Linked DNA regions of Homo sapiens: regions 2, 3, 4, 5, 6 and 7 are each linked to region 1. The links are contacts of gene promoters, found by promoter capture Hi-C in blood cells and fetal thymus (Javierre and others, 2016). All regions are on one chromosome and are shown on one strand. Each heading gives the region's core, a stretch centred on a gene start or on the middle of the fragment in contact. The rest is flanking DNA. Distances are from core to core; before and after follow the strand shown.

Region 1 (3,088 bases), core at 163-2,662:
TTATTTAAGTAAGTTACTTATTCAAGTAAGTTTATTTTTTTATTTTTTGAGACATGGTATGACTCTGTTGCTCAGGCTGGAGTGCGTTTGCTCAATCATAGCTCATTATAACCTCAAACTCCTGGGCTCAAGCGATCCTCCCGCCTCAACCTGAGTAGCTGGGACTACAGGCCCATGCTACCATGCCCTGCTAATTAAAAACAAATTTTTTGCAGAGATAGGGGTCTCACCATGTTGCCCAGGCTGGTCTTGAACTTCTGGTCTCAAGCAATCCTCCTGCCTCGGCCTCCAATGCATTGAGGTTACAGGTAGAGCCACCACCCCCAGCCTCAAGTTAAGTTTAGAAGATAATCACCAATCAAGCATTTTAAATAGCAGTGGCTTGAATATACATAGTAAAAACACAAAATAATAATAATGATAATAATGGCAAAGCTACTCCATATAGTGAAAAGGGCAATGAATTGGGAAGTCAGAAATCTCTAGCTCCATCCATTTATGACAAAACTTAGACTTTATATGTGCTAGATGCTGGAGACTCCAAGGTGAATACTAAACACTTGCTATGGGAAAACAACTTGGTCTTTTCTTGAATCTTCTTCTCACTTGGCAAGTGGAAGCTCACTTGGCTTTGTTTTGAATTAGTTTGAATTAAAAATGTTCAACTAGACTGAAACACATCAAATATATAAAATTCTAGTACTTCATTAAAACGCAATTGACTACTTTTGGAGGTTGCTAGGCATTACTATTATTATAAAAATTGATAAAAGAGGAAAAAATAAAGCATTTATCCTGCCTTTCCTGCATAATCTGTATTTCAGGTAACCAAAGCGTTGTTGAGAGAAAAAAAAAATGCAAAATACATCACTGAGATTAGTTGATGAGCTAAAACTTCTGATAAACGTATCTGTTTTGTCTACCTCAGAGGACACTTGAGGAGAGGCTGTCAAGGGATTAAAGGGAAAGGAAGCACTTGGTGGGCTGCAAAAACTCTCTTTAGGTCTAAGGTCGCATTCTGGCTCCAGAATGCCAGGGCTGCTGGGGCGGGCAGGAGCTGACAGCTCTTCCCGTATCTGGGGCTCACAAGCATCAGGTGCATGGCAGGTCACCCTCCCGGCCAAGGGTGTTAAGCAGGCTCGGTCTGAGTTCTGGGTGCGCCACGCCTGCCTTTCTGGTCTCTGCAGCAGCAACCCCAGCACCCTCAAAGCCTAGCGACCGAGAATGAGAAACCGTGAAAAAAACACGCAGCGGCAGGCCACGCCCAGAGTAGGCCTGCGCGCGCGCGCGCGGCCTCCCACTTCCGGCCACGGGAGCTGGGGGCGGGGCCGAGCGCTGCGCAGGGCTCCGTCGTGTGGCGAGCGGCTGCCCCCTGTCTGCGACGAGCGGCGGGACCCGCGGGCCGCCTCGCAGACTGCTACCCCGCCGCGCTCGCGGCCGCCTGCGTCCTCCTCAGCAGCCCTGCGACAAGTCCCGGCTCCTGCTGCGATTATATTATTTTTATTTTTAATTCACAATTTCCCCTGGCCCTCAAAGCGTTTTTTTGTTTGCGGGCAAGAGGGAGTTAGAGGAGGGTAAAAAAGACTTTGAATGTGAGGCAAAGATGGAGGAAGGCGTCCAGGCCCCAGACTGGGACAGTGATGAAACTGTGATAGAGGGTTCAGTGACGGAGAGCGACCTGGAAGAAAAGGAGCTGCCCTGGAGAAGGTGACCATCATTAGGGCCACAGTGCCTGAACCCTCGCGCCAGGGCGGCCCAGGTGCCCTCTGAGGGGGTCAGAGTTTTGAGTGGAGATCGTGACCAGAACATGTGCTTGTGGGCAGGATCAGAGCCTTGTGGGGCAGCCGTGCCTGAGCTGAGAGCTTGTAAATAAGCAAACACAGTCTGTTCCCACCTACCCCCAACCAGCTAGGGATAAAATGAGGTTTGTACTAGGTGGCTTTATAGCATTTTTCAAAAGGCTTTCCTTTTGGGGGCTTTAAGTCTTTTTGCACAAGCAAAAAAGATCTTGGGTCTGAACTTAACTGCATTTTGTTTCAGGAGACTTCATTTTGCTTCAAGAGACTCGTAGCTCAGTTCTAGGAAAATGGGTAACAGTTTCTCTCAAGAAAAGAATGTGTGATGGGGAAACTGGTCCCTGCCAAACTGGAAACGAATAGTTTTATACGAATCCAAAAAAGTCGGTATTTCAGGTTATCGAAACCTTTCTCTAACATATTCTCTGTGCTAGACACAGGGAAAAGAGGGCAGGGATGAGGCCACTAGGTCTGCTTCATATGTGCTCAGGGCTGTGTCTGGGACTTAAGTTGGATCGTACACAGAATTAGGTCATTCTCCTTTCCCTCTCTCTCTTCTCCAGGATTCTCCTGCCCCCTTTCCTCATCATACCCACTTGCCAGTTCATATGATCAGAAAGACAGGTTTCTTTGAGTGTTAGCCTTTTCACTATACAGCAGTTCCTTACAAGGGGGACAGCCTTTAGCACAGAGTTAAGAAAAGAGAGAAAAAAGGGGGATTCTGTCCACACTTTTCAGGCAATACCGATCCCTTTTCCCAGTTCCTCTGGTAGACACTTTCTCTTGAGTTTTATGTTCCCCAGTTGCCATGGTTGGTGTCTGCTCTGAGGCTAGGGCCAGCCTTGGGGCAGGGCTGGGAGGTGAGAGAGAAAGCAACATAAAGCCCTGGGCTTTGTCCTATACCTTCTGGCATGCAGGGGTCATTTTCCTTGGTCTTCTGGATAAAAATAGGTTTACTGTCTGTGCCCACTGGATGGTTCAAAGCTGAAAGACAAAAAAGAACCAAAAAACCGAAAACAAACTGAAACTCGTCAATAAATGGGTTGTTATTAAGATTTCAACTTCAGTCCCCAATCTACCTGCTATTGTTTACTTTTCAAGGTTCTCGAGTAGTTTTTAAAAAATATTCATTCGGAGTTTTTGGTTGTAATGAGAAACAGGCAGAGGTTGCTATGAGCCAAAATGACTCCACTGCACTCCAGCCTGGGCGACAGAGTGAGACTCTATCTCAAAAAAAAAAAAAAAAAAAAAAGTACCAGCAAGACTTTCTGTTGAACTAGACAACTGATTCC
Region 2 (3,088 bases), core at 293-2,792, 390 kb after region 1:
TGGTAGAGAAGCCAGGTATAATGTAAGAAATTTTATATTGTCAGTGTTGAAATGGACACAATTTTATGATTTATTAATTTAAGTGCTTATTTTTTCTTTCCTGAGCTTTGTACACTGCTGATTTATAAAGAGTATTTAGTAGTCTGGGTTGTGAAGTACCAGAGTTGCTGACATATTCCACAGGCAAATGTATTACTTTACTGTACTACAGTATGTAGTAGGATCATGTGGAAGCTTCAATTACAAGCCCATTTCTATTTCTTTCTCTCTTAAATATCTATTAATTTATTGTTAGGCTTTTGCAAATGTTTCGAGGCAAGTAAGTAGCATTCTCTATTTCCTGTTCATAGAATATAGATATTAAGATAATGATTTATCATCCATTCCTGGGTGTGGTAATTCAGTATGTATTTTGTGTTCCAACTGTTGAGCACCTTTGAAATAACTTTATGAGTTTCATTTCAGCCTTATGAGTCCTGCTTTGGCTCCCCAGGGTGGAACACTAAAAATTGATATTTTGTCTCCCTTGGAATTAGGATGGAGGCATGTAACCCAAATTTTGCCTATCACAAGATAGGCCGTATCCAAGAGAGACTGCACTACGAAGTGAGCTACTGGAGGAAGGAGGCCCTAAGGGGAATTGACTTTCTTCTCTTGTGTTTCCTGCCTTGGGGCCCTCTCTCTTCTTCCTTCACCTTACCAGGAGTAATTACTGTTAACACTATAATGTATCCTTCCAGACTTTGCTGTACAGACATATTAATCTTTTAAAAAACTTAGCTGGGTGTGGTGGCATGTGCCTGTATTCTTAGCCATTCAGGAGGCTGATGTACGAGGATTGTTGAGCCCAGAAGTTTGAGGCTATAGTGAGCTATGTTCGTGCCACTGCACTCCAGCCTGGGTGACAGAGTGAGATTCTGTCTCTAACAACAAACAAAAACAAAGCAAAAAACTAATGCAAGTAGGCATTTTTTCAAAAAAAGAAGTGGTTTGTTTTTCCTGTTTTATGAATTTTCTATTCATGACCTTTGCTTATTTATTTGCATCTTAGCTTTTAAAAAAAACACTGCATTATTCATCTGTATTAAGGTATTAGATTGTATAAGTCATACTGGTTATAATTTGCCTCTGAGTTTTTTCTTTTTAGATGCAAAAGTTTTGATTGATTTCTAGTTATTAGTTGCAGCAGTTTATTCCTTTCTCAACCAGAAGGAATTTTCCTCTATGTGTTCTGTATGTTCAGGTAATTTGCCCATGGTTACATAGCTAGTAATCCTGTTAGTTTGGCTCAAGAATACACTCCCTTAACCAGTATTTTATACCAGCTTTCACACACTCTCAAAATCCTTTGCAATATAGCTGGATTTTGCTTTTGAAGGCCTAAAACATACCAAATACGCAGTATCTTCATGCTTAAATGATTTCTTATCTAGGAGTATTTTCCTGTACATGAAGAGAGAATTAAACCTTGAGTTGGAAAGAATACTTGGAACACTTCCCCTGACATATATTAAGCAATCTTTAACCGTATTAGGGCTGCCTGAGATGCTGTGCTTTCAGACATACCAATGTGATGGAAAAAAACAGACATCGGAGTCCGACTGCCGGGTTCAAATACTAGCTCTGCTGCTTACTAGTAGTGTGGCCTTGAACAAGTTACTCAGCCACTTTGTGTCTTTGTTTCCTTTTCGGCCAAGTGAAGAGAATTAAAACACCCACCTCATGGGTTTTAGATAAAAGTTACATCAGGTGATACACGTGAAGTGTTCGGAATAGAACCTGGCACATAGTCCACTATCGGATTAGTGGTTATAACTTCAAAAGATGGTTTTGCTTCCTGCTTGAAATAAGGAGAGCCAACAGATATGAATCCCATTCAACTTCCTGCTCTATTACCTAATTTATAGGCCGTCCTAACCCATACATAATTAAATGTTTTTACTTTCCCAGAAAACAGAAAAGGATTGCTGAACAGTGTTGAGGCCCATCTGAGATTTTGATAGTTGTAGCAGTTATTTTGTCATATTCAAAAACTCGGCTCTCATAGTAGAAAAAGATGAGTGGTTAGAGGAATCTAGCGTTTAGGACCTTGTGTAGGGCAGGAGTGATGGAAGAAAAAGTAAGGTAAAGGGATTAGTTGAGCTGATGTAGTACAGGGCCCAGGTTAATTAGGGAAGGAAATGATGTTAGAAAACAGAAAAGGGAGGGATCAAGAGAGGAATCATAATAAGGTTCAGAAATAAGGTTGAGAGCATTGCTGATTATGTTGCCTGGATACCTAACCTATTCTCGGTGTTGGAGAGACCATTGTGAGAGTTAGGATCATGAATTGGATTGGTTGAGATAATTATTTTTTTCCCTGAGAATTCTTTCAGCTCTATAGTGTACATACTTCTTTTTGGGTCTGCCTCTCTCCACAAAGCCCCCAAATAATAGCAGTAACCTGTAAGAATCATGAAATAACTTACGAGCTGAACATGTAGAATATGTTCCCATCTTTTCAGAATATAGTTGGCATCCAGTAATCAACAATAAATAGGGAAAAAATCACAATAATATAAATTTGTTTTCTAACTCTTTTCATGCTTTTCTTAAGGTTATCCATTCTGTCAAATACATAATTTTTTTGGGAAAAAGGAATTATTAAAAGGTAGATACAATATAGCAGATGCTCATGATCTTAGATCTCTTATATAAGAGGTCTTGGTATTATGTTTTTATACAGCTTACCCTGGATTAATGAGCATACCATTCGCTTAATTTGTAAATTAGTTTGGACACTTTTTACACTTCGCTGTCCATTCTGTGTCAGTTTTTTGATGAGTTCACTTAAGGCTACATTAAGCTTTCTCATTCATGTAGAATCTAGTTAGGCCTTTTGGTTTATCTCATGGACAGAGCATAAAGTACTTGACAGAATTTGATCTGACAGCTTTACAGTTACATAACATAGAACAGAAGCTTAAAAACAACAAAAAAGAGAGAGAAGCAAGGGATTTATCATAGCAACCTATATTTCTCTCTGGAACTTTACCACCCTTCCGCTGCCTCTCTAAACTATAGTAGCAGAACCACTGTTAGGCTTGCA
Region 3 (3,088 bases), core at 420-2,919, 370 kb after region 1:
GGCTGTGGGAGTGAAACCCTGTCTCAAAAAAAAAAAAAAAAAAAAAAAAAAAAATTGGACCTTTTCTTTTATAGGTCTGGGTGAATGTAGTTCTGTCTCCTACCAGAATAGCCAGACATCTGGGAGCCAGGCCTCCCTGACCCAGGCACAAATACCCGCATACTTCTAAAACAATAGCTAAGAGTCAATCACACCCAGGCATTTCAAATATTATCAACAAGTTGTATTGGTTAGCTTTACACTAAGGCCTGAGGCTTCAACATCTGTAGGGCATAGTCTGGTAGCCAAAGCTTCCCCAAATGGCAATTGTTTGGGATTACCCTGGGGACTCCTACTTACACATAGCTCTAGAAATGTAAATACAAGTCATATAATTTCATTCATCACTGGCTATGGGTAGAACCCAACTACCCAAAATTCCTGCTCTATTAAATCTAATTCATTAAGTTTCATTAAAATGGTAAATGATGTGTAATAGTAAAGATTTTGGCTAATTAAATATTATACAAATGAAACAATAGATTCTTATATGGCAGAAAAGCTTTTTTTAAAAATCAGGGTCAAATATATCTATATCAACAAGCATTCTTTGAAGTATTTTTTGATCTTGCTAATTTTGCTAATCATTAGTAAATTCGTGAAAGTTGGTATTGTGATTGCTAAATATTTCCCAGGAATGAAAGAAGCAATTTTCAACTTTTCTGGATGAGCTGAACATAATACTACGGTTCTTGGATGATGAGTAAAAGAAAGTCTTGACATTAATACTTAGATACAATATTGTTTCTCAATACAGTTATTAAATATATTTAGACTACAATACGCATTACCTTAAAGACAATTTATCATGTTTTAAATGCTGGAGGGCTAATTTTCAGTAGGAGTGTGTAATTAGCAAAGGCGCCAGAGGCCATAAGACGGTAGAATAGAGCTGGGAGAGGCACGGGAGGAAAGCCGGATGGAACCCTGTTGTCTTTCTGGGTCAGGGTTATTCTGTACCGGTTAAACGGTGAAAGAGAAAAGGTCAGCGCAGGAATGTGGTATTTCCCTGACATCTCCAGATGAAAGTCCGGGCTCTAGGACTTCTGTAGACTGTGAAAGCAGCCCACGATTCTAACTTGCATGCACCTAAGTGGCAGTAGGTTTAGGATGAAAGTGGTGGGGCGGAGGCCGGCGGTCCTCGCCCGTGCCCTCTGCACCCCTGTCCCGAGGCCGGGATGGCCGCGCCCACTCTGGGTAAATTTCAGGAGGGCCTACGCGGGGCTGGAGAACTCCACCGGGCTATGCGAACAGAATCCTGCGAAGGTCGGCATTAAAGGAATACGCAAAATCAGCGTTGCAGCCCCCGCGGCTTAACCGCATCTATTTTTATATCTAAGCCAAGGTCACTCTTTAATACCAGGCCATTGCCCTGAGCTGGGCGTCGCGCTGCCGGGTGACGGCGGCCGGGGCGGAGAGAGGGGGCGCGGGTGGCGAGGCGGGGGCCGCGTGACGCCCCCGGGCTGGCCAAGCCCGCACCTGCCGGGCCGGCGCCTGAAAGCCGGGGCTGGAGGGAGGCAGGGCGGCGTCCCAGGCTCCGAGGAGGGGCCGCTCCGCGCTGGCGGGCGGGGGGATTCGCGGTGGGCGCGGGCGCGGAGCGGAAGCGAAGGCTGGAGGCGCTGCGGCGCTAGTGCGTCACGTCGTCGGAGGGCACGGTGGGCCGCGGCCGACCCGCGACGAGGAGCCGGGCGTCCGGGGCGAGCGGGAGGCAGCCGCACTCGCCCTGGCAGCCGCGAGCTGTGCGGCCTGGGACCGGCCGGAGGTCGCCAGCGAGCAGCCGCCGGCTCCATTCATTCGCGCGGCTCCGCCTCCTTTCCCGGGCTCTTCCAGCGGCTCCCGGGGCGCGTCTGAGGTGAGTGCGCTCCCTCTCCCCGGCGCGGACCGCTGGGTGAGGCCGAGACGGCCGCGCCGGGCCCCGCGCCCCCGCCAGCACCAGACCCGCGGACACCGAGCGGCGACGCGGGCCACCGGCTGTGGGCGGCCCCTGCGGGCTGGGCCTGGCGCAGACCAGTGCGGGCCGCCTGGACCCGGGGCTCGCGTCCAGCTGGCGGCGGTCTGCGGGGATCCCGTAGGGCGTGTGGCGCCCCCAGGTGCGCCGGCCTCCGCCTCGGCGCCACCATTTTGTGTGAGGGAATGCCCGTCTTCGCTCGCCTCCGCCGCGGGCCGGTTCGCAGCTGCGGCTTGCCGCCCCCTCCCCTCGCCCTCTCCCCACCTGGATGCTTGGCGTGCGAGCTGATTGCTTTGGCTTGGGGAGACGCGGACTCGGGGAGGTGTGGAACTTCAGCGTTTAGACTCGGTTCACCCGACCAGGTGGCCTCCAGAGATGCTCTGACCGCCTTCCTTTACCTGTAACTACTTTTGGAACAGATATTGTATGATTCTCCCTCCTCTGGAATGCTGGTCGTTGCAGTTTTGTCCTAATTGTGTTCTCAGCTCTCCATTATGCCATTTTTCAAGAGGCCTGTGCCTCAGGAGGTGAAGCCTTGAACCCTGGGTGGTTTATGGCTCGGGGGTCTGGATTACACTGACTCCCATGACTGTCCTTGGGGAGAAAGGATGAAGCATCTCACTGGCTTTTCAGCGTCTGGGAAGCGGCGTGGGTATCGTATCGGGTGGATTCGAAGATAACCACCTGATGCAGGTCACCTTCCCCCGCTGGGAGAGCCGTTCCTAACGTAAATTAAAACGTGTGTACGGGTTTTTGGGGGATTGGGACCGGAGGGACATATTTCTAAAAAATTTCCAGAAGGGAAAGTTTTCATTGTGATTCTCACAGAACTGTGACACAATTTGTCATTTTCAAGGTTCCTGAGAATTTGGGAATTCTTTTAATTCGTTGGCTTCTTGCGAATTACTACTTACGAACTGAGCAGATTATACCCAAGCCATTTATATTTTGTCATTGCATCACAGACAGGGATTACAATCGGGAGTGCTGGCTGTTGCATAATGCACACATTTGGGCCCTGGAGGGAATTCACCGAAGTGGATCTGGGTTTGGTGTGCCATGCGTTTTTATTTTTTACACAGGATGTACAGATGATCTTTG
Region 4 (3,088 bases), core at 216-2,715, 310 kb after region 1:
AGAGCACCTCTGTTAATTAAGAGGATGGGTTTCAGCACCTCACTTGGTTACCCAAGGGAGAAGGAATGTTGGAGGAGAAATCCCTTCTAGGACAGGAATCTCCTCCTGGACACACGATGGTAGTGTACACACACACACCCTCAGGAGACGAGACACTTGGGCCCTCCTGACTCTTTCAGGTGGTGCAGGGTTCTAGCCTCCTGGAGGGCCCCACCTTTCCCACAGCTCCATGCCCCCTCTTCTGAGGGAGTAGGAGAAAGAGAACAATTTCCTCTCCGTCCCTTTCTCTGTCTCTCTCTCTCTCTTCCTCCTTTTTTTTCTCTCTCTCTCTCTACACACACACACACACACACACACACACACACACACACACACACACACACCAGGTTGTGAATTAAGACACTGATGGCCTCCTCCAGGCTATACGCATTTTGAGGCTCTGTAAAAACTGTCTAAGAGGAGACCCAATAGAAATGAATCCAGAGATGTGCCAGTGGGAAATCAATTGACCCGCAAGTAATAAGTTACAATTTACTTACATGTTCACACTGCTGAGCATGGAAAGTGAAGTATCTGGGATAATGAATGCCCCCTATCCTGTCCATATAATTCTGTACCAACACTGGTATCATTTCGGCAACACTCAGTGTTGGATTTTTGTTCATGATGGTTTTCATACCCAGTAATATGCACAGCTCTTATTTTATCTTAGAGCTTCAAAAGAAAACATATTGAGACAAGCTTCTTCATGGCTGGTCATCTAACATGCTCTCCTTTATTTCTAAGGGAACAAAGTACATATTTTCTCCAATGCAACTGAAATTTCAACTCCTGCTATTTTCTTTTAGGGCTTTGGGGAGTCAGTGTTAGTCAAATACTAATGACAGTCAAAAGAGCTAGAATTTTTTATATAATTTTCCATTTACAGAAATGCAAATGATATTTAAAATAAGAATAATTTCAGAACTAGTACATTGCTTTGTTGAAATAATCTGTTCAAAACCTCATAGTTCAAATCATATACAAATGCAAATTTACTGGCATATATGAGTATCTAACATGAAAATTTTTAAATGTTGAAACCTTCAGATTCCAGAGAGATAAAATATTTTGTAAAATGCTCAACCTCTTGGAATTGTCTTCAGTCAGGTCTGTGGTTCACATATATAAACTTACTCAGTTGGGATGGCATAGATATTATTGTCTTGTTTGGCCCAGACAATATGATCCCAATGTACTTGGAGGGTCTTTAGGGCTTGTCCCCAGAATATTGCTTTTAAGACCTTATTTCAGTTGGCTAACGACTAAAAAATAGAATTTGTGGAACAGCTTCTTGTCAAAATCACATCAATTGCTCCTTAATTTTTGTCCTACAGACCAGTGTTATACAGATATAAATTTCCTAGGGAAATGCTTATAGTAGGCATTAGTTGGTTAAGATTTCAAACTCTGAGCTATCTCATCATTTTACAACATATGCTCAAAGTGGAAAATATGGCCCATTACTTCTTCACATTTAGAAGTAATACTTTGAATTGTGTAGAAGATAAACTGATGGCATTCCATATGCTCTGAGAGAGAGTTCAAGGTCAGTCAGCAGTTATTAAGTTGCCACCGAAGGACAAACATTGCCCTCAGGAAAGCAGCGACAACTCCATGGATGAGAGGTACTGGCTGTGTTAGGCCGTTCTTGCATTGTTAGAAATGCCTGAGACTGAGCCAGGCGTGGTGGTAATCCTATAATCCCAGCACTTTGAGAGGCCGAGGCAGGCGGATCACGAGGTTAGGAGCTTACGATCAGTCTGACCAACATGGTGAAACCCTGTCTCTACTGCACAGGTTGCAGTGAGCCGAGATTGCACTACTGCCCTCCAGCCTGGGCGAGAGCCAGACTCCATCTCAAAAAAAAAAAAAAAAAAAAAAAAGTGACAATTAGGAGCATTTAGTAAAATTGATCTTCCATATTTATTAAGACTTCTATAGGTCATAAGTAAGTGTATTCAGAAATAAACTAAGCAAACTGTGATAAATAAGGCCAGGAATGCCTTTTATATAGTTACACAGGAAAAGTAAACCTAAAGGTATTAGGACTCATCTATCATAGCTAAACCCTGACAAACAGAAATTACTTTTAGTTTGCACCATCTAGAGGTGAAAAAAAGAATTCTGAATTTATCCTACAAAGCTTTCAGATCTTTTTTTTTTTTTTTTTTTTTTTGCTCATGAGGTTGCTAGCTGTCTTACAAATATTTGATTATTTTTAAAAATCTTAGAAGAGTAGAAATTCAGTATACCACCTTAGCCACTTGATGTCTACTTTGTGTCTGTTAAAAAGGGTTGGGGACAAAGTTGTGCTCAGTGACAACAAAACACTACCATCAACGTAAATACCTCAAAATGAACTTCTGATTAGAAGGATTTTTTGGCTGGGAGTGGTGGCTCATGCCTAGAATGCCAGCAGCACTTTGGGAGGCCGAGGTGGGAGGATTGCTAAGGCCAGGAGTTGGAGACTAGCCTGGCTAACGGAAAGACCTCACCTGTACAAAAATTACAAAATTAGCTGAGCATAGTGGCACACTCCTGTAATCCTAGCTACTTGGGAGGCTGAGATAGGAGAATTGCCTGTGCCCACAAGTTCAAATTTGCAGTGAGCCATGATCACACCACTGCACTCCAGCCTGGGCAAGAAAGTGAGAGCCTGCCTCAAAAAAAAAAAAAAAAAAAATCTAGCATGGTCCTCATGGTGCTTAGATTGTAATGCTTCTGTCATTATTAGTCATTATTTCATTATGTAATTTTTAGTCAAAATAATTTTTCCCCTAAATTATTTTGGCTCACTCTGAAAGAATTGAAGCTGATACATTTTGAGCGTTCTTGTGTATATGTGTTTGAACATCCTTGTCCAAGCAAGCACCCTTATTGTAGTAAAGTTTTCACTGTAGGAGTTTTTTTGTTGGTTTGTTTGTTTTTTTGAGATGGAGTCTCGCTCTTGTCGCCCAGGCTGGAGTGCAATGGCACAATCTTGGCTCACTGCAACCTCCCCCTCCTGTGTTCAAGTGATTCTCCTGCCTCAGCCTCCCAAGTAGCT
Region 5 (3,088 bases), core at 193-2,692, 290 kb after region 1:
TTATTGATAAATAATATTTGTAGATATTTATGGGGCATATGTAATATTTTGAACATGCATATGATGTGTAATGATCAAATCAGGGTATTAGGGTATCCATCACCTCAAACATTTATTATTTCTTTGTATTGGGAACATTTCAACTCTTCTCTTCTAGCTATTTAGAAATATACAGTACACTGTTGTTAGCTATAGACACCCTATGCATTTTAATAGCAGACTGAGTTATGTTCCAAACCACAGGCTGTCTTCTCTCCTCCATATCATTGTAGTTTTTGCTGTGATTTAATTACATAGCAAAATTTAATCTCAGTTGAATTCACTAAGAACCTCTGACTCCCGGCTTGACCCAGGGAGATAGTCCATCCAACCCCTCAAGCCTAAGGTAGTTTTTAGTCAGGGTTACAAGGAAACCCAGTCAAAAGAGGCATAATCTTTCAGCTGCTACTGGAACGGGGAGTGAAGTGTCAGAAGCATCCTGGAAGGAGTGCACTCTTTTCTCAAGAGGACATGTGATGAGTCTTTAAAGTATTAATGTTGTACCCTGCAGGTCAATGGGTCAAACCACTTCCATTAGCTGGGCAGTGTAAGTTTGGCATCAGAGCATAAGGTTTTGATTGAATGCAATGATTTTTCCCTCTCTTATTTCCCTTTGGACCGGTGAGTATTATCACCTGGTGGTGGAATCCTTTCTCCACTTCCTCTTTGTTCTGCTCTCCAAGGGCTCAGTGTATAAGGTTTCAATCTGCTATTGTGATATGCATGCATTTTTTAACCTCAACTCAAGTATGGAGTGCACTGATATACCAGAGCGCCCTCCCCGACCACTGCCTGCCCACACACTTGAAACAAGTTTCAAAATTACACTCTGATAGTTCTCATTTTATGTCTCCACCTCCTCCTCCTCTTTTGTTGAATTTTCAATACCAGTCAAGACAACAGTATTAGTTTTGTGACTTACAAATAGATCACCTCTCATGACTGGTATCTACCCCCACTCCTTCTCTGTGATGTTTTCATCATCTTCTAGGTCTTACTCTTTCTTGTGCAAATTTTTGGATTTATCAATTACTCTGAAATAATTTGGAATTGTCAAATATTTATATATATATATCTGTAAAAATTCCTCAAAGGATTTCTCAAAATATCACAATATTTGATATCCTCTCTGCCACTTCATTTCTTTTCTCTGCCTCAAAGCCCCATATAGAAAACATTCTGAAAATATAATCACCAAAATGCAAATTCTATCCTTTCTGGAAAGTGGAATTGCAAGTAATTTTTTAAAGTGTATATTTTCTAATACCTACATATTTTTGTATAAAAATAGTATGTTTTAAAATGACCATCACTATATTTAATTAAGAGGTATTAGAGCTCAGAGCGTGATACCCCAAAATTTGGTACTTTGGCATAGTGGGTACTTTGGACTGAAGGAGGATGGAAGGGCCTCAGAAGTTAAGGTGTTCAAATATGATATTCTGGCATGTTAACTGTTTAAGCTAAAAACACCTGAAAAACAGCAGATGCCAGAAGATCACTTTGACCTTCATGCTGTTTCTTAAGAGCAGAAGATGAAATTCCAGTGTGGAAGACACTCTCCCTGTACTAGGAGGAAAGACAGCATCCTTATCTTCAGGGATGAAAAGTTAAAACCAAGAGAATACTGTAGACTTTGATAGAATCACTCTTATCTTTTAAAGCCTCTCCACACAAGTTAGTTGCTTCTTCACAACTTGTAATTCCTTGTCCAATTCAGTATATAAGTAACTCACTCTAACTGCTTCTTTGGGTCTTCATTTATGCATGAGGGCTCCCCTGCCATGTAAAACTTGTATTAAATAAATTTGTATGTTTTTCACCTGTTAATCTATATTATGTTAATTTAATTCTCAGACCCAGCCAAGACCCTAAGAGGGTGGAAGTGGAATTTTTCCATCCCTAGAAGAGCAAAAAATTCCCTCTGACCTTCTCCCATCTTCCTTCACTTTCCCTCATTTCTCTCCTGAAGTAAGCCATAGAAAGTAGAACTCCTCTCCCTCAAAGCAAGAAATATTACTGTCTGACCTTCTCCCTTCTCCCCTAAAGGCTGCGAAATGACAGGTGTTTTGCCCTCGACCCCCAAAGGAAGAAATGTTACAGATTGGCCAGGAAGAATCTGCACAAACAGGTCTTAGTGGGTTCCCTCTCAGTTCGTTCTCATTCAATCGTTTGTCCAATCACATTTCTACATGCTTGTCCATTCTCCGTGAAAGAAAACCATAAAACTACACAGTTTTCCTTGGATCTTTGGGTCTTCATTTCAAAAAGCTCCCATGTCACATAAAACTTTGTTAACAAATGTGCTGTGCGTCTCTCTTGCTCACCTGCCTTTTTTTGTAGGAGTATCTGCCATGACCCTGGTGATGGGTAGTACCTTTTCAACCCTACAGAGGCTGCTAGAGCTTGTAAAATGCTGGGAAATACTTTCTCAGAGTCCTACTAATGTTTTAGTTTCTTCTCCTAAGTTATTCTCATTCTTTGGGAAAGATACTTAACTTTTTCTATGGTTTGTTACTGTGGGTTTATAATTACATTTATCTTTTCCTTTTCCAAAAAATAAAACAAGTGTGTTTAATTAATGAAGTTTTTCTTATTAAATATTCTCAAATTGAGTGAACTAGATATGGATTAGTGTTTACAAATGAATTCACAAGCAAAGGAAGTTTACAGATAGAACTCAGTTATCTGCCTTTGAAAGACATCACTGTTGTGTTTTTTTTTTTTCTTTTACCATCCTTTTCTTCTCTCACGGCTATCTTTCCATTCCCTTAAGGTGTGTATACACACATATGTAATCAGTTTGTTAGTGTCAATCATCAAGAATCAATTCATCAAATGGCCAACAAGTGATAGGAAACTGTTGCTCGTAGTTCTTATATTTAGGTAACAAATTATGTCTGTCTTCCCTGAGGGATTCATAATTCAGCAAAGCTGTCAAGCCTCAAAGGCATACATTGAGTTTGTGTTTATTCTTTGTCGTATCTAGACTAATTGGCTGATTTTTAGTTGTATATTGGCAGTAAAATTTTTTATTAAGTATAATCTA
Region 6 (3,088 bases), core at 239-2,738, 290 kb before region 1:
GTGGAGGTTGCAGTGAGCCAAGATTGAGCCACTGCACTCCAGCCTGGGCGACGGAGCGAGACTCTGTCTCCAAAAAAAAAAGAAAAAAAAAAAAACAAAAAAAAAACCCATTAAATCAGAAGTTTATCTCTGTTTAAATCATCCTCTTAAAATACCATGAAAAATATTGAAAAAGAAATAAGGAGACAAACAAAACAAACAAAAGGGTACCAAATGGGACAAAGAATGATTGGATAAAGTTTAATTTACATAGTAAAAATCTTATTAATTAGGTGCTGAGGTTTTTTATTTTCTAAGAGAGAAAAATTTCCCCTCTCATTTCCTTTTCTGAAAATAAGAGCTTCCTAAATCTTGTTTTTGCTGAAGTCAAAGCAGTAGTAAAAGTGATTTCTCTTTTACAATACTGTCAGTGGTTTCTTCCCTTTTCTTTTTTCTTTTTTTTAAGAGACGGAGTCTCACTCTTCCCTTTTCAAGATACAGCCAACCTCTCTACAGTTGAACAAAAATGAAACAGATAAAAATATAAAATACGAAATTCTATAAAGGTTGGTTATATTTACTATGAAAGCTAAAAACATGCATATATAAATGGTAACTAATGTTTTCCAACAATTTACCATATGCCAAGCAGATACTAAGTGCTTAAGAAGCATCCTCTCATTGCTACTCATTAGTTTAGATATTTCATTTAAGTGTCTTTAACACATAAGGAAATTGAGGTTAGAGAATTTATATAATTCACCCATGATCACAAGAGGTACTCAGGCTGAAACTCAAATCTAGATTCTGTCTCCGGAGCCCGCATTCTTAATCAGTATGCCAAATACACAACTACACCTAAGATGCCAGTTTTATTTTATCTTCATTCTCAAAAGATATCTTCATCAGATATAGAATTGAATTGACAGCTTTTTTCTTTCAGTACTTTAAAGATGTTGCTCCATTGTTTTCTAGACTCCATTATTTCTGCTAAGGCCATGATCACTCAAATTGTTGTTCCTCTATGTATGTTTTCCTATTTTGAGAAAGTTGTGGCTATTACTATTGTTTCTTCCTCTTCCTATAATCTCTCTCATCTCCCTTTGGAGGTTCAATTACCTGTTACTCCTGTTATTACTCCTTTGCTGTTGTTCCACAGGTACCTGACTTTCCTTTTCTGTTGTTGTTGTTGTTTTTAATTTTTTCCCTTACTCTTCTTCATATTGGTTATTTTGTATTGCTCTATCTTCGAACTGACAGACCAATTCCTCTGTCATTTCCATTTTGCTATTAAGTCCATCTAGTAACATCATTTTGATTTCAGATATTGTATTTCTTAGTTCTACAGTTTCCATTTGATTTTTTATATTTTCCTTTTTTGCTGAGATTTCCTTTCTTTATAATGATACAAACATATTTCTTTACTTCGTTAAGCACAGTTTTAATAGTTGTGTTAAAGTCTTTGTCAGATAGTTCAACATCTGGATCATCTTGGGGTTACCATCTGTTGACTTGTCTTTTCTTTGAAAATAGTTCACATTTCCCTGGCTCATATATCAAGTAATTTTAGATTATATCCTCGATACTGTAAATGCTATGTTGTAAGAACTCTAGATTCTGTTTTATCTTTCTGAAGAGTGTTAATATTTTTGTTTTAGCAGGCAAATAAATTCTAACTGAAAACTCTCTATGTCTGGTAAGGAGAGAGACTCAGATCTCAGTTCAGATTGCTCTCAATTTGCCGTGGGCATGCATGTAGACTATGCAAGTCAGAGAGTCAGGTGAAGCTATTATACAGCATTTAGAATTTCCATTATCTGGCTCTCTCTTTTCTTGGGTGCCTTCCCTACTCTTTGGTAGCACTGGCCCCCTTCCCCTGGTTCTTTTGGACAGAATAATGGGGGGTTTTGTACTGGAACATTAGTTATGCCTTACTGTGCCTGCCCTCAAGGCAAAGCTGCAAAGAATGAGAATCTCACTCTGTAAGGGTTGCTTTGTCAAAGTTTGATACCCTCCAAAATCTATCTGTTTTTTGTTCCAGACCCCACAAGTAATTGATTTTTTTGTTTTTTTTTTCTAGGTTTTCAGTCATGTGCAAGAGCTTACTTCTCCATACTGGAAGTAGAAGTTTCTCAAAAATTTAAAAGCAAATAAACTTATACGTAATTTACTTCATATTCCTAAAGTACTAAAATAACTTTTGCTCTCCAAAGTACAGCTATTCCACATGTTTAAACAGATGTTTGCTGACAGCACTGACTTCTCCAAGAGCCTAAGAGAGGAGAGCAGCCAATTAAACTCCACTGTCTTCTAAAATTTTAATCCTAGATTGGTTTCAGATGGGTTAAGACAGTCATTCAACCCACAAGTATTTAAGGAAGGCACCTGGGACTGACTCAGTTCCTAGATTTAAACCTATTCTGTGAACTGTCCACCCCTACCTTCAAAGTACAGAGATGAAACAGGTTCTCATATTCTCTATGAGCACATCCTCCTACTCCTGCTTCCTCTTATCTGCCCTTTTTACAATCTGAAAGTTTTTTTTTGTTGTTTTTTTTTTTTGAGACGGAGTCTCACTCGTCACCCAGGCTGGAGTGCAGTGGCGCAATCTCAGCTCACTGCAACCTCTGCCTCCCGGTTTCAAGTGATTCTCCTGCCTCAGCCTCCTGAGTAGCTGGGATTACAGGTGCCCGCCAGCACATCTGGCTAATTTTTGCATTTTTAGTAGAGACGAGGTTTCACCATGTTGGCCAGGCTGGTCTTGAACTCCTGACCTCAGGTGATCTGCCTGCCTCGGCCCCGCAAAGTGCTGGGATTACAGGTGTAAGCCATGGTGCCCAGCCTACAATGTGAAAGTTTTATCTGTCTCTGACATGCAACAAAGATGCCTTCCTCACCTCCCCAGAATCCTCATCACGCATATATTTAAATTGTTTTCTAGTTTAAAAACACTCTCAAGTGAAAAACAAACCAACAAAAAAACCCAAGGCTTTCCAAGGCTTCAAAAATTCCCAGGCCTTCTTTCAAGAATATAACCTACAAAACCTACTGCTTGAATCATGTACCTGTTTAACTTAATCACAAAACAGTTTGGGTTCTCATTCCACAG
Region 7 (3,088 bases), core at 333-2,832, 270 kb after region 1:
TCCTTTCTTATCGTCACACCAATGTCTCATATTACTGGAGTTCTAGAAGTTTATCCCAACACAGATTTCATCTCTAATAACAATATAAGTTCATTTTCTATCCTGAAAATTGGAAAGCTGGCCGGCATTCTACACTTTCTATTAAATTTAGAAGGAAGTATTTAACATCTGTCATGAGTCAGGATTGTGGTAGGGACTATCAGGTATGTGAAGATGAATAAGGCATAATATCTGCTCTCCAGGAGTTCACTGTCTAGTAGGAGAGGTAATATTTGACACAGATTTATCTTTCCAGGCAGAAAGAGGAAGAAGGTGATAAGTTCCTCAAATAAGGCGTAAAGTATTATGGGATATCCTTATGGGAGAAGATAATTAGACTCTTACATCACAGACAATAGGAAATCCATACACAGTGAAGATTGTGTGTGCGCGCATGCTTTGGGAGAAAACGGTAAAGGATGCCTTTATAATTTATAGTCCAAGCAGACCTTTCTTCCCAAAGAAGGCACTACAAAATCCAAAAACAATAAGTAGAAAAAATTAACACAAAAAATGAAAACTTCTTTATAATGAAAGTCATCATCACAAAGTAAAAAGAAAGGTGACAACTTTTTGACCAGCAATTTCACTTCTCAGGAATCTATTCTACAAATACACTACACTGCAGAGATACAAAATGAAATAAGCAAAAACTGATTTGTTTTGTTTGTAATGATAAAATAATTGTAAACACCCAAGTGCCCAGCATAGAGTATGGTACATCCACCAACAGAGTACCACGCAGCTGAAAACAGAATGAAGAAGATCCCTATGGACTGATATGGAGCAGTTACCTGGATATCAGTAGTTTATATTAAGTCAATATTAAGTGAAAAAAATAATATCAGAACATTTATTTCTCTTTTGTGAAAGAATTTTTTTTGTTTGTAGATTTTGTATTCTTAATCTGTAAACATTTAAATATGAAAAGTACCTGATAAGGTAGAAATCACCTGAAATCTTGCCCACTCCGAGATAAACACCTTTATACATCAATTGTATATACATATATGAAAAAATAGATATAAATACAAGAAAGTGATGATGATATGAGTACCAAAACCAGAAAATTTCTATTGGACATGGTAAGTGTAACTCCACTTATTGGATAGGTGAATATACAGGGTATTACAGGAGTGAATAATTGGGTTGAGGGTGGGTCAAGAAGCACTTTCTTAGAGGAGTTCCTGAAACATTCTAGATCTTTTGCCTGTCCCTCTTTTTTGGTTAGATTTGCAGGGTTTCTTAAAATTTTTTCATTTTTGTGGGTACATAGTAGGTGTATATATTTATGTGGTACATGAGATATTTTAATACAGCCATACAATGCATAATAATCACATCAGGGTAAATGGGGTCTCCATCTCCTCAAGCATTTATCCTTTCTTTGTGTTATAAACAATCCAATTATACTCTTTTATCTATTTTTAAATTTATAATAAATTATTGTTGTTTGTGGTCACCCTGTGATGCTATCAAATACTAGATTTTATTTATTCTATCTAATTATATATTTGTCCCCTTTAACCATCCCCAGTCCCCACCATCCCACTATTCTTCCCAGCCTCTGGTAAACATCATTCTACTCTCTATCTTCATGTGCTCAATTATTTTAAATTTTAGCACCTACAAATAAGTGAGAACATGCGGTGTTTGTCTTTCTGTGCCTAGCTAATTTCACTTAACATAATGACCTCCAGTTCCATCCATGCTGTTGCAAATGACAGAATCTCATTCTTTTTTATGGCAGTACTCCATTGTGTATGTGTACCACATTTTCTTTATCCATTCGTCTCTTGATGGACACTTAGGTTTCTTCCAGATTTTTTATCATGTGCTACATTTTATGTTTTAAAAATAAAGGAGAGAAACACTATACAGGCATTTTTGCTTATATCTACACAATGAAGCACAGGAAAATGATTCCATGTAAGGGATTGGGAGGGACAGGTGGAGGGACAGAGGTGGAAATGCAACTCCTCTGTGTTTACCTTTCTGTGTAGGTTTGATTTTTGAATCTTATAAAATGTATTATCCACCCTTACATTTTAATAAAATAAAAAGATAAACAACACTCTAGAGAAACTACATAGAGGATTAATAGCCATATAAATAAAAAGCCTACACAAATCAATAAGAAATTTCCATCTAATAGAAAGATGGCAAAGGACACAGATAATTTATAGAAGAAAAACAAATGTGCAATAAACATAATGATCTCATTCTCAGCAAGAACCAAAGAAATTCTAATTGAAACAATAAGATATTTTTATGTAACTGATTATCTTAAATTTAAAAGATAATATCAGTGAAGAGTAAGAGGGTGAGGAAACAGGAACCTTCCTATAAAATGGTTGGTCTGAATATAAACCGGTAGCACCTTACAGGAATATTTGAAAAATTCCAAATCTAGGAATTTATGCCGAATACTCACTTACAATGAATACCAAGAAAATATGCTGCAATGATGTTAATTGCTGTAGTGGCTGTAATAGCAGAAAAATAGGAACAACTTAAATGTCCATTATATTATGATATAGACATACAATGAAACACTAGGCAGTCATTATAAGAATCAAGTCACAGGCTGAGCGTGGTGGCTGGCCTGTAATCCCAGCACTTTGGGAAGCCGAGGCGGGCAGATCACCTGAGGTCAGGAGTTCAAGACCAGCCTGACCAATATGGAGAAACCCCATCTCTACTAAAAATACAAAATTAGCCTGGCATGGTGGCACATGCCTGTAATCCCAGCTACTCGGGAGGCGGAGGCAGGAGAATTGCTTGAACCCAGGAGGCAGAGTTTGCAGGTGAGCTGAGATCGTGCCATTGCACTCCAGCCTGGGCAACAAGAGCGAAACTCCATCTCAAAAAAAAAAAACACACGAAAAATCAAGTCGCTCTATATGTATTGATTTAGGAGTATATTTAAGATGTATTAACAAGCGTATAAAGCAAATTGCAGTAAATTATGATCATATTTTTGTAAACCAAAGGATTAAAAATTTTATTATGGGCCAGGTATGGTAGCTCACACCTATAATTCCAGCAC

What was found. The method cuts DNA at HindIII sites, captures the fragments that hold promoters and counts their contacts. A CHiCAGO score of 5 or more calls a contact.
Region 2: a fragment that was not itself captured here is called in contact with the fragment with the promoter of ANKRD31 in region 1 in 1 of 17 cell types (naive CD8 T cells); the score reaches 5.0 in naive CD8 T cells.
Region 3: a contact is called between the fragment with the promoter of FAM169A here and the fragment with the promoter of ANKRD31 in region 1, in 1 of 17 cell types (naive CD4 T cells). The highest score is 5.1, in naive CD4 T cells.
Region 4: a contact is called between a fragment that was not itself captured here and the fragment with the promoter of ANKRD31 in region 1, in 10 of 17 cell types (naive CD4 T cells, activated CD4 T cells, non-activated CD4 T cells and 7 more). The highest score is 21.6, in naive CD4 T cells.
Region 5: a contact is called between a fragment that was not itself captured here and the fragment with the promoter of ANKRD31 in region 1, in 3 of 17 cell types (naive CD4 T cells, activated CD4 T cells and non-activated CD4 T cells). The highest score is 7.4, in naive CD4 T cells.
Region 6: a contact is called between a fragment that was not itself captured here and the fragment with the promoter of ANKRD31 in region 1, in 1 of 17 cell types (neutrophils). The highest score is 5.7, in neutrophils.
Region 7: a fragment that was not itself captured here is called in contact with the fragment with the promoter of ANKRD31 in region 1 in 1 of 17 cell types (non-activated CD4 T cells); the score reaches 5.4 in non-activated CD4 T cells.

What each region holds. Positions count from the first base shown.
Region 1 is chr5:75,235,202-75,238,289 of GRCh38, reverse strand. ANKRD31 (ankyrin repeat domain 31) reads left to right here and starts at 1,412. Exons shown (of 26, transcript NM_001372053.1): 1 at 1,412-1,707. The coding sequence starts at 1,604. It overlaps LOC124901006 (a long non-coding RNA gene), which reads right to left and starts at 1,252. Exons shown (of 2, transcript XR_007058823.1): 1 at 924-1,252. RefSeq lists a silencer at 1,172-1,471 and an enhancer at 1,522-1,691. The HindIII fragment of the contact is 5,895 bases long and covers 1-3,088 here.
Region 2 is chr5:74,848,771-74,851,858 of GRCh38, reverse strand. All of the region lies in intron 1 of FAM169A (family with sequence similarity 169 member A), which reads left to right. Among named protein-coding and RNA genes, the nearest start is that of FAM169A-AS1, 16 kb to the left of the region's middle. The HindIII fragment of the contact is 2,611 bases long and covers 237-2,847 here.
Region 3 is chr5:74,864,968-74,868,055 of GRCh38, reverse strand. FAM169A (family with sequence similarity 169 member A) reads left to right here and starts at 1,669. Exons shown (of 13, transcript NM_001376049.1): 1 at 1,669-1,891. FAM169A-AS1 (FAM169A antisense RNA 1) reads right to left here and starts at 2,163. Exons shown (of 1, transcript NR_134288.1): 1 at 781-2,163. RefSeq lists silencers at 1,733-1,982, 2,053-2,222. The HindIII fragment of the contact is 5,081 bases long and covers 544-3,088 here.
Region 4 is chr5:74,924,511-74,927,598 of GRCh38, reverse strand. No RefSeq gene overlaps it. Among named protein-coding and RNA genes, the nearest start is that of FAM169A, 60 kb to the right of the region's middle. The HindIII fragment of the contact is 1,444 bases long and covers 744-2,187 here.
Region 5 is chr5:74,943,437-74,946,524 of GRCh38, reverse strand. No RefSeq gene overlaps it. Among named protein-coding and RNA genes, the nearest start is that of FAM169A, 79 kb to the right of the region's middle. The HindIII fragment of the contact is 5,206 bases long and covers 1-3,088 here.
Region 6 is chr5:75,523,582-75,526,669 of GRCh38, reverse strand. The region is part of intron 1 of POLK (DNA polymerase kappa); the gene reads right to left. Among named protein-coding and RNA genes, the nearest start is that of POLK, 13 kb to the right of the region's middle. The HindIII fragment of the contact is 8,036 bases long and covers 1-3,088 here.
Region 7 is chr5:74,960,680-74,963,767 of GRCh38, reverse strand. The region is part of intron 1 of LOC105379040 (a long non-coding RNA gene); the gene reads right to left. Among named protein-coding and RNA genes, the nearest start is that of GCNT4, 90 kb to the left of the region's middle. The HindIII fragment of the contact is 3,710 bases long and covers 1-3,088 here.